Linked DNA regions of Homo sapiens: region 2 is linked to region 1. The links are contacts of gene promoters, found by promoter capture Hi-C in human tissues and cell types (Jung and others, 2019). All regions are on one chromosome and are shown on one strand. The core of a region is centred on a gene start or on the middle of the fragment in contact, and the rest is flanking DNA. Distances in the headings are between cores, read along the strand shown.

Region 1 (2,962 bases), core at 379-2,878:
AATCTTAGGGTGGGAGGTGGAGCTACGGAAGGGAGCCCAGGAGTGAGCAACAGATCAGCAGCAGCACTGCGCCCCTCTTCTTAATATTGAAGAGACTTGAAACAATTCAGTCTTCGCCACCCCAGACCAGCCCGTGAGGGCAAGGCCAGGAAGGGATACAGGGTTCTAGAGAACCAGGGCCTCACCGCCAGCTCCGGCCGCTAAGCAAACATTCCCTCCAGGAGTCCGAGAAGCCGGTGTGCGAGGGGAGGAACCAGCCTGAGGTTTATCGCTCCAGCAACTCCGGGTGATTCATAGAGTTTAGACTCCCGGTTGTCGTAGACCGCGGCAGGCACGCAAACAAGCAGCCCGGGAGATACCCTCCCCTTTCCCAGCCCCCGCTCCTCCACCTTGCTACCCCCTAGCCCGTGACCAGCTGCCTCCCCTCCCCCTCGCGGGCGCTCAGGGTTGAGCAAACACTCCGGGCCGCCCGCCCCGCCACCAGCTGGCTCCGACCGGCGCACCGCTGGCGATCCCCCAGGCAATTCGGCGTCATGAGAACCGGCACCCCGAGACTCGGCGCCCTGCCCTCCCTCCGCGTCTCCAGGGCCCTGGCCAGGCCCAACAACCTCTCCCTCCTCTGTGCGCCTCAGCCCCTACGGGCCTCTGGCGCGGGCTAACTAGGCCTCGCTGCGGGCCCCCAGGACTGCGCACCCCACCCCCCGCGAGGCCAGCAGCCCCGGGGGAAGGCGGCCGGAAAATCTCTTGTTTATCGGGCTGGATAAGTACCAGCCTGGATTCGCTTCCCAATTTCTGCGGTCCAGCTTCAGCAGATTCCTGGGGCCGGAGGGGAAAGGGTGGCAACCCACAGATCCACCCCGGAACAGGGAGTGGGGGGTGGGGCTGGTGGGAACCTGACCTCCTGGAAAGGACGGACTCGGAGTCAGAGCCAACGTGTCCCGGAGCGCAGAGGCCCAGGGGGTCGCGCTAAACACTGTACCTCGGGGAACAAAACCGTGAAGGCTAATTAGGACAAGTCGGAGCAGGGAACGGGGACGCCGGGAGGGGAGAGCGCGCTCCGAGTTGGGCAGAACCTGGAACGGTCACAGGAAACCCGGGCGCGGGGTAGTCGGGCCGAGGGGGACCTTTGCCCACGGTCCAGAGTGGTCTGGACTCGGCCCACGCGTGAGAGGAGCGCTTGGTGACGATCCCACGTACGCTTGGTGACTGGTGGAGGTCCCAGAGAAGGACCGTGCGTGCAAAAGGCGAACCTCGGTGTGCGGTGTGTCCACGTGTGCAAGCTGGGGAGGGGAGGGGGCGCAGAAGGCGTGACAAAGACGGACTCTGTCTTGAGTGTGCGCCTCGCTCCGGCCCGCTCCCAGCGAACTGTGCCTGAAGTGTGTCTCACGGGAGGGCCAGGACGAAGGTGACAAAGGCTAGGTGTCCCCCACGGAGACGCGCCAAGGTAGCCCCGCGCGTGTCCGTAGGCGCGCTCTCTGGAAGACGCGGTGGGGGGTGCGCAGGGCTGCACCCTCACACCAATTGCCCCGGCGAAGGCCGAGCCCAGAAAGTGAGTGCGCGTGAGTGTGCGCGCGCCCGCATGCGGGGGCGTGGCAGTCAACAGCAACAACCCACACGCCGGCAGGGCCAGAAACTCCCATCTCCCTCACCAGCCGGAAAGTACGAGTCGGCTCAGCCTGGAGGTGAGTCGGGGCGGGGAGGGCCGGGCAGGCTTTGTTCCTGTGTAAACGGAGCGCACGTACCTGGAGCGCGGCGGGCGCCCGATTAGCGCCCTGAATGGAGGTGATGTAACGGTGATGCAGGCTCCAGCCCACCCTCGCCGAAAGCAAGGAGCCCTGCCTGGGGACAGGCCCGCGCGAGAGCGAGCAACCCAGCGCGCCTGGCTCAGCCTCGGTCCCAGGGAGAGGCAGGCCCTGCGTCCCGGCCCGGGCCCCGCCATCCCAGCCAGGACCGGGCCTGGCCCAGCGCCCCGCGCCGCGTCCCTCCCACCCCCGCCCGCCCCCCGCCTGGGGCTGGAGTTGGCCCCAAACGCTGCGCTGGAGCGGGGCCGGCGGCGAGTCCCAGGTAAGGGCTGCTGCCTTCCCGCTCCGCCGCCCGGAAGAGTCGGGTCGGGACGGCGGGGAGTGGGCGAGGGCAGAGGCGGGGGGACTGGACATCCTGCGGGCTGGGGACGCCGCGCCAACTCCGCTCGGTCGCTGAAAGTTTTCAAACCCGAGCCGGCTGGGGACTGGGGGGGTGGGGGAGCCCGGCGCTGCGGCTCGGGCTGGAGGGAGGGGAAACCACTCCATAATCGGGGTCTCCAAGAGGAGCCCCTCCACCGCCTGCCTCTCGGTGGGAGTCCGCGGTCACTCTCTCTCGTGGGTGGCGTCCTCTCTGCCGCCTGCTACTGTGGATGTGGAGGGCAGGTTTCTGTGGCCCTAAAAATGGGAGAGAGTGACTGGTTCCCTTGCTCCCCATTCCAGCCACCCAGGGAGCGCAGGTGTAGACCCCAGTACCGTCGACCCAAGTAGGGACGAGAGGGTTCAGAATCCCCCTGAGGGAAGTTTGGAAATTCAGACTATCAAAGCGCCTCCCCTTCTGGTAGCCTGGCCCCTAGATCCCGAACCCCCACTCCCGGCTGGCTTTTCCAGCGTCCTTTGCACCTCCATCCCCAGGCCCGCAGTGTTACACGCTGGAAGACCCAATCACTTACAAACTCCACGATCAAGATCCTAAAGCCCGGGAGAGGAGACTGTTGGAAGTAGGGTTTTGTGCTCCTGGAGCTTCCTCTCCCCGCCGGCCCCCCACCCCTGTGCCTTCAACTGGACTGGGGGAGGGAGTGCATTGGGGGGTGGGGCGCATTCCAGAGTGACATTCCAGAGCAGACCCTTGAAGATTTCCAAGTCTCAGAGAGCTCAGGGCATTTTGGCCCAAATGCCTGGTCTTGGTGCGGGGCAGGGGCAGGGGGATAGGGGTGGGGTGT
Region 2 (2,965 bases), core at 364-2,863, 69 kb after region 1:
CACTTTTGCATATGTCCTAGAGACCTTGTTATACAAGTACACACAAATCTACCTCATTCTTTTATATGTGATTCCACAGTTTTAATTCATTCCGTTATTTACTCATTTACTTGATGACTTTTATTGAATACCTACTATATACCATGGAGCTATACAGCAGAGACATAGCAGTGAAGAAGATAAATGAGGCCCCTTCTGTCTGGTCCTTGTATCTTAGTGGGCAGTAGACAGAACAAACAAAACAAAAGCAAGCTTCGTTCAGATCATCACAGAACTGCTGTGTGAAGATCTGAATTGTGTACAGCTGAGAGTGATGAGAGGCAGGAAGGGCTGCTTGCATAGGGAGGTCATGGAGGGACTTCCTGACATTTGAGCTGAGACTTGAGAAGGAGCCAGCCACACAATAATATAGAGTGAGAGCATTCCTGGCAGAGGAAACAGCTCAGGCAAAGGCTCTAAGGGGGAACAAGGCTAGTGTGTCCCAGGCTTAGGGTGCCGGCCAGATGAGTACAGAGTAGACAATGTGGGGAGCTTGGTGGGAGGCAGACGCAGAAAGGCAGAGGCAGGCAGTGGTCAGATCAGGGAAGGGTTAATACGCAAATGTGTGGATTTTGTCCTAAGTGGAAACTCTGAAAAATTTCAAGCAAGGGAGTCACACAATGGCACCTTGGAATGGGGTGGTGGATGTGGCCATTGGAGAAGGTGGACAAGCTCAGAATGCATTCTGGCCGTAGAGCCAACCCAACAGGCTGAAGGATTGGATGTGGGAGGGAGTGAAAAGAAAGGAATAAAAATTGCAGGTGACTTCTACGGTTTTCACTTGAGCAATTGGGAGGGCAGTAAAGGTGGGTCCCTTTACGGAAATGGAAAGACTAAGAGAGCAGCAGTTTTGGGGTGGAATTGGGGAGAGGAAACAGGGACTCTGTTGGGCGTACAGATGCTCAAATAAAGATGACAAGCCCCCTATTGGCTGTATGAGTCAGGCGCTGGGGGAGGGACTGGAGCTGTAGGTGCACAATGCATGCCGATGTATCTGTGTGTCATACAAGGCCCCATGTATGACTGCGTGTGTATACACATGCACAGATGCACACATTGTTATGTCATCCCAGACCATGTTTTTGTATTTTTGTACCTGTATCTTGGTATATATCTGAGTATATCTTTTTTTTTTTTTTTTTTTTTTTTTTTTGAGACAGAGTCTTGCTCTGTTGCCCAGGCTGGAGTGCAGTGGTGTGATCTTGGCTCACTGCAACCTCTGTCTCCCGGGTTCAAGCGATTCTTCTGCCTCAGCCTCCCAAGTAGCTGGGACTACAGGCGTGCACCACCACACCCAGCTAATTTTTGTATTTTTAGTAGAGATGGGGTTTCACCGTGTTGGCCAGGCTGGTCTCGATCTCCTGACCTCGTGATCTGCCCACTTCAGCCTCCCAAAGTGCTGGGATTACAGGCGTGAGCCACCACGCCTGGCCTATCTGAGTATATCTTTAGGAGAAATTTCCAATAGTGGAGCATTAGTCAAAAGGTCCATGAATTGACTTTTTTTTAATAGATCTTGACAAATTTTCCTTCAAAAAGCTCTTGCCCACTGTCATGCCAAGCGTCAGGTTCCAGCCCATGTTGAGGTCTGAGGGGAGTGGGTGGATGGGTGGCGAATAGCGGAAGGAATATTTAGGGGGCTGTAGGCAGGTAAAATATGGTTTTATTCAGCAGCTTTTTCATCAGCAGTTTTTTTTATATACTTTAAGTTCTAGGGTACATGTGTACAATGTGCAGGTTTGTTACATAGGTATATATGTGCCATGTTGGTTTGCTGCACCCATCAGCTCGTCATTTACACTAGGTATTTCTCCTAATGCTATCCCTCCCCCAGCCCCCCACCCCTTGACAGGCCCCGGTGTGTGATGTTCCCCACCCTGTGTCCAAGTGTTCTCATTGTTCGATTCCTACCTATGAGTGAGAACATTCGGTGTTTGGTTTTCTGTCCTTGTGATAGTTTCATCAGAAGCTTTCTCATACAATTCACCTTTATCTCGGCTGCCTGCTCCAGCTTTGCGGCTCTTGCCATTCCCAGGCTTACAGCTGCATTCCCTGGCCTACAAGCCTGGCTCTCCCTTATGGGGTCAGCAGTTTTACTCTCTGCCTCTGGGCACAAGCCATGCCGAACCACATGTACAGCGTCAGCAGGGCAGTTATACCTTTTACAGACAATAGTGGCTCTGAGCCACTTACACAAACAGATTACATAACAAGTGGAGTTATGCGCCTGCGCGCCAGACTCCCTGAGTCACGCTGGCCCTGATGTTTGCCTCTGCCTGTTTTGTTTTTGTTTTTGTTTTTGTTTTTTGAGACGGAGTTTCGCTCTGTCGCCCAGGCTGGAGTGCAATGGTGCAATCTCGGCTTACTGTAACCTCCGCCTCCCAGGTTCAAGCGATTCTCCTGCCTCAGCCTCCCGAGCCACCACACCCAGCTATTTTTTTTTTTTTTTTGTATTTATAGTAGAGATGGGGTTTCACCATGTTGGCCAGGCTGGTCTCAAACACCTGACCTCTGGTGATCCACCCGCCTCAGCCTCCCAAAGTGTTAGGATTGCAGGCGTGAGCCACCGCACCTGGCTAACCTATTCTTGACCAAAGCACATCCATGTACCTTACACCCACTTACCTTCCCATCAAGAACACTCAACGATGTCCCTTTCCCTACACTCTCGCCAGTATTGGATATTTTCACACTCTATTTTCTTTTCAATCTGATAGAAGAAAATAATATCTTATAATTTTCAGAATTTGCATTCCTTTATTTGCCATTTTAGTTTTTTTCCTGTGAACTATCCATTTGCCCATTTTGCCATTGAGCTTTTAATCTATCTTACTGAGTTCCTCCGAGTGCTTTGTAAATTAAGAAAATAAGCTCTCTGTCAAATTGCCTGCAACATTTCCTTCATAGCTTGTCATTTTTTAAAAAA

Evidence for each region. Contacts are between HindIII fragments. The study calls those that stand out against the background at their distance.
Region 2: a contact is called between a fragment that was not itself captured here and the fragment with the promoter of GPRC5C in region 1, in 2 of the 25 tissues and cell types used here (lymphoblastoid cells and spleen).

What each region holds. Positions count from the first base shown.
Region 1 is chr17:74,430,460-74,433,421 of GRCh38, forward strand. It overlaps GPRC5C (G protein-coupled receptor class C group 5 member C), which reads left to right and starts at 1,629. Exons shown (of 4, transcript NM_022036.4): 1 at 1,629-1,682. RefSeq lists a silencer at 502-641. The HindIII fragment of the contact is 9,677 bases long and covers 1-2,072 here.
Region 2 is chr17:74,499,679-74,502,643 of GRCh38, forward strand. No RefSeq gene overlaps it. Among named protein-coding and RNA genes, the nearest start is that of CD300LB, 30 kb to the right of the region's middle. The HindIII fragment of the contact is 5,799 bases long and covers 1-2,965 here.